Linked DNA regions of Homo sapiens: regions 1 and 3 are each linked to region 2. The links are contacts of gene promoters, found by promoter capture Hi-C in blood cells and fetal thymus (Javierre and others, 2016). All regions are on one chromosome and are shown on one strand. The core of a region is centred on a gene start or on the middle of the fragment in contact, and the rest is flanking DNA. Distances in the headings are between cores, read along the strand shown. Region 1 holds the start of SCAMP2 (secretory carrier membrane protein 2). Region 2 overlaps LOC124903524 (a long non-coding RNA gene). Region 3 holds the start of ULK3 (unc-51 like kinase 3).

Region 1 (2,700 bases), core at 53-2,552, 500 kb after region 2:
AACAAAAAAAAAGGAAAAGAAAGAAAGCAGGAAGATTGTTTCTTCCTTGATTGCTGTTCAAAAGGTCAGGCCAGGCGTGGTGGCTCACACCTGTAATCCCAGCACTTTGGAAGGCCGAGGCGGATGGATCACCTGAGGTCAGGAGTTTGAGACCAGCCTGGCCAACACGGTGAAACCCCGTCTCTACTAAAAGTATGAAAATTAGCTGGGTGTGGTGGCATACGCCTGTAGTCCCAGCTACTCAGGAGGCTGAAGCAGGAGAATTGCTTGAACTCGGGAGGCAGAGGTTGCAGTGAGCGGAAATCGTGCCAATGCACTCCAGCCTGGGCGACAAAGCGAGACTCCGTCTCAAAAAAAAAAAAAAAAGTCAGGCCAGCTCACACGTCAGTGCATCTCAACTATGTTGCCACCACACACAGTTCCATCAGACAAACGTTCCCTGTGGGTCCAGAATTTTTCACAGTCCCCCGCACCTCTCCTCTCTCCCTAACCCGGGCTCTCCTATCTGGTCAAAACCCACTCCAAACTAGACCCATGGCCAAAATGTGGAATTCTTATCAAGGCCATTTTTCAACTTGGGCTACCTTCCCGCCCTCTCCCATCTTTCTTTCCCTGACAAATCTCAGGGGCTCTCCTGTACTTTATACACTAGTTTGGCTGGTGGTGGAGCGGTGGCAGGTGTCCTGGGCTTTTCCCACATTTTTCCCCTCCACCAGAGGCTTCACCACCTCCTCATATGTTGCTGTCACCCCCTCTTCTAAAGTGACTCAAGACAGGTGTCTATCCAAGAATGAGGGAATGCGATAGCCACATTTCGCTTCTCCCTGACGCTAGGAGACTTCCGGAAGGGTCCGACCGTACCTGCTCCAGTCCCCTTCCCTAGCACAGCCCAGCCTCCGGGTGCTAGAAGACCCCACTGTCTCCAACACTTCAGCGCCCCGCCTCCTCTGCAGTTCCACCTGCTGCTAGTCGCGCCCCTCACGCGTTACGATAGGCCAGACCTCAAAGCCCGCTCTCCCATTGGGCAGATGACCCGTCCCTCCTACGCCACGTCTCCCGGCTCTAGCGAGAGGCCCGGGCGGCGGCCGTGGGCCCTAGGGAAATCTGAGAGCTGGATGGCGGGAGAGGGGCTCTACCTGGAAGGGGTTTACATCCACTGGGTCCGCGAAGGGGTTGGTGTCGAAAGCCGACATGGTGATCGGGGGCCAGCGGGCGAACTCCGCGAACGCTGCTGCCTCCGGGCACCCAGACCCAGCGGCGCTTCGTGTAGACCCTCCACTTCCGGGAGCGAGGCAGCGGTTCTGGCGCAGGCGCGATGCCCTCCCCCGAGGGCGTGGCCCTATGACGGCACCGGGGTCGCTCCGCCCCCCCCCCCCCCCCCCCCGCCCAGCCCACAATAGTGCGGTGGGTGGGCATTCGGCTTCCGTCCACATCTTCGCTCTGCTGGGGATTCAGGGGTCTTGGCTGCGCGGAGCGTCTACGGAGCCAGAGGCGTGGCCGGAGTCCTTCCCAACTGCCTATCAATCTGACACCTTCCAATTTTATGTTTCTAAAGCAAACTCTCAAAAGTGGGACAGGAAACAGCCCCTTCACTTCTCTGTAGACCAAGTTTGGGAAGAAGTCCAAACTGATCCCTGGGCAAAGGACAGGGGTGACAGGTGAGGCCAGAGGCCTTGGGAGAACTAGGAAAGCGCTTCTTCTGCAGAACGTGCTCGGGGAAAGAGAAGTGCCAGGACCATCCAGCAGTCCTCCACCCGAGCTGAGCCTGCTTCTTCTAGGGCTGCTCGCCCTCTGATGTCGTTTCATCGTTTTAGGGACGAGGGTTCCTGGGCCCATCAGCTTTGGGACCTGAGTTGGGACTTGAACCTGGACATCAAACATTTATGAAGTGACTCACGGAATTCAGCAACACAGCCTCAATCATGGGGGAGGTGGCTGCTTCACTCTCCACAGCTCCGCTTTCCCCCGCCCCCGCCCCCCACAGGGTCTCACTGTCGCCCAGGCTGGAGTGCAGTGGTGCAATCATGGCTCACTGCAGCCTCGAGCTCCTGGGCTCAAGCAATCCTCCCACCTCAGCCTCCTGAGTAGCTGGGACTACAGCTGGTCACCACCATACCCAGCTAATTTATGGATTTTTTGTAGAGATGGGGATCTCACTATATTGCCCAGGCTCGTCTCAAACACCTGGGCTGAAGTGATCCTCCCGCCTTGGCTTCCTAAAATGCTAGGATTATACTCATGAACCACTGTCTGGCCAAATCCACCTTATTTATTTGGATCTGTCTGGTATTATTCATCTCTGCTGTCACCGAATCCCAGCCACTGTCATTTTTACCCTGAACTAATACAGTGCTGTTAATTGGTCTATTGTTCTTCATGTTGTAATCAAAGATATGTTTAAAGGGGGCAAAATTATCACAGAACTTTGTTAAAATTTTTCAATTAATTTCCATAAAGGGCTGGGTGCGTGGCTTATGCCTGTAATCCCAGTACTTTGGGAGGCAGAGGTAGGAGGATCACTTGAAGCCAGGAGTTCGAGACCAGCCTAGGCAACATACCAGGACCCTGGCTCTACAAAAAAAAAAAAAAAAAAAAAAAAATATATATATATATATATATATATATATATATACATATACATATCTCACACACACACGTAATTAGCTAGGCATGGTGGCCTGTGCCTGTACTCCCAGCTAC
Region 2 (2,744 bases), core at 1-2,500:
TTCTCAGAGTAGAGGGTGTACACATTTAGACCCATCTAAACGTTGCCTAGGACGGGGAACATGATTTTATTCATTGCAGGCAGCTTGGATGGATAAACAGAAAATCCAAATCACAGACTTAAAGAAGATAGAAGTGTATTCTCTCTCCCATAAAGGATGTCCAAGGCTGGGCAGTCCAGGGTGAGTGTGTCAGTCCCAGCAAAATGCCAGGCTCCATCTTCCTGCTTCACCACGAAGACATTTGGTTGGCATTTCTAAGGCCACCCGATGGTCCAAGCTGCTGCTGGAGCATTAACCGTGTTGCTGGCCAGAAGGCGGAAGAACTCAAGAAGACCAAAAGGGGCCCTCCCTGAAGAGCCAGCTTCATTTAAGCCCCTTCCTCAAAGTCCCACACGAGTCCAACCATATCTGATTGGTGGGAACTTAACCACATTGAGGCAGGAGAATAGGGAATTAGGGCAACCAAGGATTAAGGTAGGAACAAAAGAAGAGCAGGTGCAGCCAGTTCACATAAGCAAAAGGCACAGCAGGTACAGCCAATTCTAGGCAGGATTAGGCAACATACAGGCCACATCTTCACTTCTGTGATAACCACAGGCCAAGTCGCCACTTAAGCCTCTAATTGGTCACGGATCAATCCTTCATTGGATGTAACTGATTGGAGGCCTCTGGAGGGCACCGGGGGTGTTCATGTTCTTTAGCTTAATAAAATCTCTAATTGAAGGGGCTCCTGAGCCACTTGCTCAAGCCCACTCTTGCTCTGTGAATTGTACTTGCACATCTTCAATAAATCTGTGCCTTCATTACTCCATTCTTTCGTTGCTTTGTCTTTTGTTGCTTTGTGCGTTTTGTTCAATTCTTTAACATGCCAAGAACCTGGACAACTCAGTCAAGACCTTCCATTCAGTAACCACATGACTGTACCTAGGTACAGGGAGGTAGGTACAGGGAGGCTGGACAATGTCGTTTTGCTCTGGATGGCAATACATCCGCTAGCAGAGGTGCTGGCCAGACCATAGACATAATAATACAGTTTTGTATCATGAAACAAGCAACGGTTTTGGAGCCACATGGACTCAGGTTCAAATCCTAGTTCAACCACTGAGTGGTCGCGTGGCATAGGGCAAGACACTTGAGCTACTTGAGACTTAATTTTTTCATATTTAAAATGGAGATAATCAGACCTGCCTCTCAGAGCTGTTGCAAGATAAAAAAAAGCACTTAAAAGATTCAGAGGTTCTCAAAGTAGCCCACCTAATATCATTGCCTTAAACATCACCCTCTTGCTCAGCTTAGGGTATGGACACCATACATGAAAATTAGGTGATTCTTTCCCTGTTTGTTTTCACATGCACAGCTCAGGGTATTTCACTAAGTCAGATGGTCCCCCCGACTCCACCCTATTTCTTTCTCTGAGGGCATTTCATCTGTTTCGGTGTCACCCCACTCTAACAGTTTAAAGGGAGGAGGGAGAGGCAAGGACCTAAGATGTTTGGAGAGAAATCAGCCCTAGAGATGGGACTCAAGGTTATGGCATTTCTCAGCTTAAGTATCAGATGTGGCTGTTAAAACTATTATTAAATAGATTCCTTTTGCTGTTTGGGGTTTTTCCTGTTTGTTTGTTTGTTTGGCCTTGGGAGGGGTCATGTGGCCATATGGTAAAGAGACATTCCCAAGGAAGGAATGAAACACATTGTTCCTGCCCGGGCCAGGGCTTATGTAGTCAGGGATTATGAAGACTGAATGTTCTGTGTCCTGGAGGAAAGGGGTCCCTGCTTTGGGGACTGTTTCTTTTTATGGATCCTGGGCTATTCCTTCTGTCCAACAAGAGTGAAATGAAGGGAAATACGGGACAGAGTTGACATAGCTTTAGGGGCAGGAGTAATTGGGGTAAAGGAGGGGAGAAGACTGGACCCAGAAGTCAAAGGCCCAGAGCCCCCGGCAAAGGAGTGTTGCCAGGTTGGGAGCCTCTGCAAAGGGCATCTCTGAGGGCTGTTCCTAGGGGCCCACCCATTGCAGCCCTCCTATGAGAACTTAACTCCACATGGTGAACTGGAACCTGAGCCCTAATCTTAGCTACCCAGGGCAGCCTCTCCCTGCTCCTCTAAATCCTCATCACTCCTGTAAGTCCAGAGGAACCCCCACACCCCAACTTGAAGGGTGAATGAGTACCCAGGCACTCCCTGCCTGGGTGCACACTGTGGCTCCTTGTCCCCCTCTATACATTGCCCAGGCTGGCTTTGAACTCCTGGGCTCAAGCAATTCTCCTGGCTCGGCCTCCTGAGTAGCTGGGAATACAGGCGCGTGCCACCGCGTTCAGCTTCATTTTTATTTTTACAGCTTCACTTCACTTCCTCAGTGCAAACATGTTAAAATATTAAAAATTTGCTGTAAAGTTTTTGAAAGGATATTTATAATTTTGCTCTTGAAACCATTTGGCTAGGAGTGACTGATTTAAATTACAATTGGGAATTCTTGTGAAATGAGAAAAACCTAGCCCACACATTCTTTCAGATGTAATGAAATTTTTATGAATACTAAATTTAACAGTTAATGAGGTTGATATAATGTTACAGTTGGACACTTGATTAAGAATTTATTGATTTCCATTTTGCAGTGTTCTTATTTGAGAGCCAATCATTTTTTCTTCAGCTGTGAAATATTCACATGGGCCCTTGGGAGGCCCCCGCTGCGGGCTTCTCTAGCGGGCAGTACATAAGTAACCAGGCCAACAGCTCTTCCCT
Region 3 (2,774 bases), core at 124-2,623, 470 kb after region 2:
CTTGGCACAGCACTTGAGTCCTACCTACAGGACTCTGGAATGTTCTACAAGGTCCTTATATTATGTTCTATGTATGGAAGCCTGAACACCCCACAGAGGGGTTACCCCCTCATCTCTCCCACAGCGTCCTTGAGCAAGGGTTGAGTGTATGAGATAAACAGGACCATAAAATTTCAGGCTGTGCAGGAGGCAGCTGCAATGCGTGCCAAGGCTCTAAGCCTGGGGGAGGGGTGGGATGGTGGGGGGCAGAGAACAAGGGACAGAGTGTCAGGCTGGTGTCACAGGCCTTTACCTAATTGCTGCATGAAGACACGCGCCACCTTCTCAGGCAGAATCCTGCGGGTATGGATGAAGCGAGACAGGTCGCCCCCTGCGCAAAACTCCATGATGAGGTAGATATTGTCACTGTCCCACTGTGTTTAGAGGCAGAGAGGCGGCCTGAAGAGAGTGTCCCTTCTCCAGCTCCCTTTGGCAGCGGCCCCGCCCCAGGCTCACACCTGAAAGTCTTTCAGCTGCACAATGTGGGGATGTCGAATGCCCTTGAGGATCTCAATCTCCGTGAGGAGGTTCTCCACCGATGCCTTGTTCAGACTTTTCTTGGCTACACACTTTATGGCTACCACTTCACGAGTGTCCTTCTGCGAGACAGGAGATTTGGGGACTCTGCCTTGAGGGGGCCAGGACCCTTGTCTGACTGGAAAGGCTCTATCTGGTTCCCTCTGTTCCCCCACCCCGCCCCTCCCCGGGTCTACCTACTGCACACCAGCACCGGGCTTCCCAGCTTTCCCTTGTGAGGCCAGTGAGGAATGCTGATTCTGGAATCCTGGCTTCCCGACACAGCCTCAGCCTGGTCTTCTCCAACCCTCGGCTAGCTGATCCATTTCTTTGCATTCTGGAGTGCTCCCGGCAGAGGCATGTCACTCAGGGTTCTAGAACCGCCCACTCTGCCTCCCAACTGGCTCCAGTCCCAGACTCCTCCCAGCCCACCAGGTAACCTGTTTTGAGCCTGTTCTTCAGCCACTGACCCTGCAGGTGGGTGCAGGTGCGCTCTTTAAGACCTAAGCGTGGCAGTCGGCTCCAACCTCCGCCGAGGGTCAGCTGGGGCGAGGCCGGCCTCCCGCCCCTAACTATTCCCACACTGTCGCTAACCTCTCAGAGTCTCCCCGGCCGGCACCAGCCGAGCTAGCTCGGGCGGGCACGGGGCCATCGGCCGGCACCCACCTTGGCGTAGGCCTTGTACACCGTGGCGTACGTGCCGCTGCCCAGGCGCTCGGTGAGGATGAAGCCGTCCAGGCGCGGGGGACCCCAGCCGGGCCCCGCCATTCCGGCCGCCTGCGCCCGCGCGGGCGCTTCCTCGCTGCGGGCGGCGGTTCCGGCGGGTTGCGGGGCGGGCCGAGCACTGGGTGGCTCCACGCTGCCCCCAGCGCCGCCCGCCGGAAATGCAGCGCGCATCGGGGACGCGGATCCGCCCGGCTCCCGGCGCCCCTCCCCTGTCTCTGGGCCTCGCCGGGTCACGCGCCCCGCCAGTTCCTGCAGGGCCCACGTGGGGATACGGAGGCCCCGCGAGCCTAGAAGTTAACAACGGAGGACGGCCGGCGTGGTCTCCGGGGACTCCTAGCGGGCGCAGAGGCGTCTAGAGATCGCCCACGTGAGGGCGCGGGCGGCGGAGCGGGCGTGTGTGGGGGCGACGGCGTCCGGGAGGCTCCCAGGGCCCCTCCCCAGGACCCGCAGCTCTGAAAGGAGAGCTACTGGCACGAGAAGGCGCCTTTGGAAGAGGCCGCGTTGGCTTCCCAGGCCTCCCAGCTGCTTTTCACTTTTCTGAGGAAGGGCCTTGACCTATTTATTGCATCTTAACTGTCCCCGCTCTCCAATCTTAGCAGCGGCGCCCAGCCCCTAATCCTGTGGGCTGCCCCGTCCTCCCAAGTCCACCAGACATGTGGACCCGTGTTGTCTGAAAATGTTTTTATTTTTACTTAAGCACAAAAATTGAGACGTAACATATACATTTGTACATAGAGGGGAAAAAATACCAGAAAGGAGTTCATAAAACCCCAGCCGCTGCCAGTATCATTCAGTGGCTGGGGCCTGCGGCTGTCTCGGGCCCAGAGCCGGAGGCTAGTTTTGTGGGAAGGCACCCCAGTCCACACACCCACTCGGCAGCCTCGAGGGACAGGGTGCTGGTTTTAAGGGTGGACTCCTACGTGTCCCATCACAGTGACACACCCCCCAGGGTGTGAACCAGACTCCACTGGGTATTAGGGGGCCCTCCGAGAGATGGCTTATCAGTCCCTGCTGAGGGATGCGGTTCTGGACTGGCTGGCCCTGCCCTTCCTGAAAGTCTGGATGCTGCTGATGGGGAGCATGGGCGGGGCAGGTGGCATCTGAGGCAGAGACAAAGGCAGCCGTCCCTCGGTTCGGGGAGGGGGGGGGGTAGTCACAGCAAACAGGGCCAAACCAACCACACCAGGACAGGCAGACCCCACCCTCCTAGAAGACGCTGGACGCTAGGCAGGACAGCTTGGGGTCAGTGTCCTTGGTCCCTTCCAGTCCCCAAATCCCAACCAACGGCATTGTACATTCAGAAAGTCTGAAGAGAGTAAGGCTCAGCAAGGGGAGGGCTCCAGAGGGCTCAAAGTGCCATCCCCTGCAGGAGGGTGCAGGGGGATAAAGGGCTATTAATCCGTTTCTCAGGAACACGAGGCAGGGAAGAGCTTAAGGCAACCAGCCTTCTCTGGATCCGTTTATGAGGCAGAGAAGAGCTTGAGGCAACCAGC

Evidence for each region. The method cuts DNA at HindIII sites, captures the fragments that hold promoters and counts their contacts. A CHiCAGO score of 5 or more calls a contact.
Region 1: a contact is called between the fragment with the promoter of SCAMP2 here and a fragment that was not itself captured in region 2, in 2 of 17 cell types (M2 macrophages and total B cells). The highest score is 6.7, in M2 macrophages.
Region 3: the fragment with the promoter of ULK3 here is called in contact with a fragment that was not itself captured in region 2 in 5 of 17 cell types (M2 macrophages, M1 macrophages, total B cells and 2 more); the score reaches 10.2 in M2 macrophages.

Annotation. Positions count from the first base shown.
Region 1 is chr15:74,872,063-74,874,762 of GRCh38, forward strand. SCAMP2 (secretory carrier membrane protein 2) reads right to left here and starts at 1,303. Exons shown (of 9, transcript NM_005697.5): 1 at 1,137-1,303. The coding sequence starts at 1,193. The HindIII fragment of the contact is 8,993 bases long and covers 1-2,700 here.
Region 2 is chr15:74,370,402-74,373,145 of GRCh38, forward strand. LOC124903524 (a long non-coding RNA gene) reads left to right here. Exons shown (of 2, transcript XR_007064709.1): 2 at 1-811. Among named protein-coding and RNA genes, the nearest start is that of CYP11A1, 4.1 kb to the left of the region's middle. The HindIII fragment of the contact is 3,316 bases long and covers 1-2,744 here.
Region 3 is chr15:74,841,783-74,844,556 of GRCh38, forward strand. It overlaps ULK3 (unc-51 like kinase 3), which reads right to left and starts at 1,374. Exons shown (of 16, transcript NM_001099436.4): 1 at 1,222-1,374; 2 at 498-638; 3 at 293-413. The coding sequence starts at 1,323. It overlaps SCAMP2 (secretory carrier membrane protein 2), which reads right to left. Exons shown (of 9, transcript NM_005697.5): 9 at 1,948-2,774. RefSeq lists enhancers at 368-893, 962-1,873 and a silencer at 1,136-1,855. The HindIII fragment of the contact is 10,695 bases long and covers 1-2,774 here.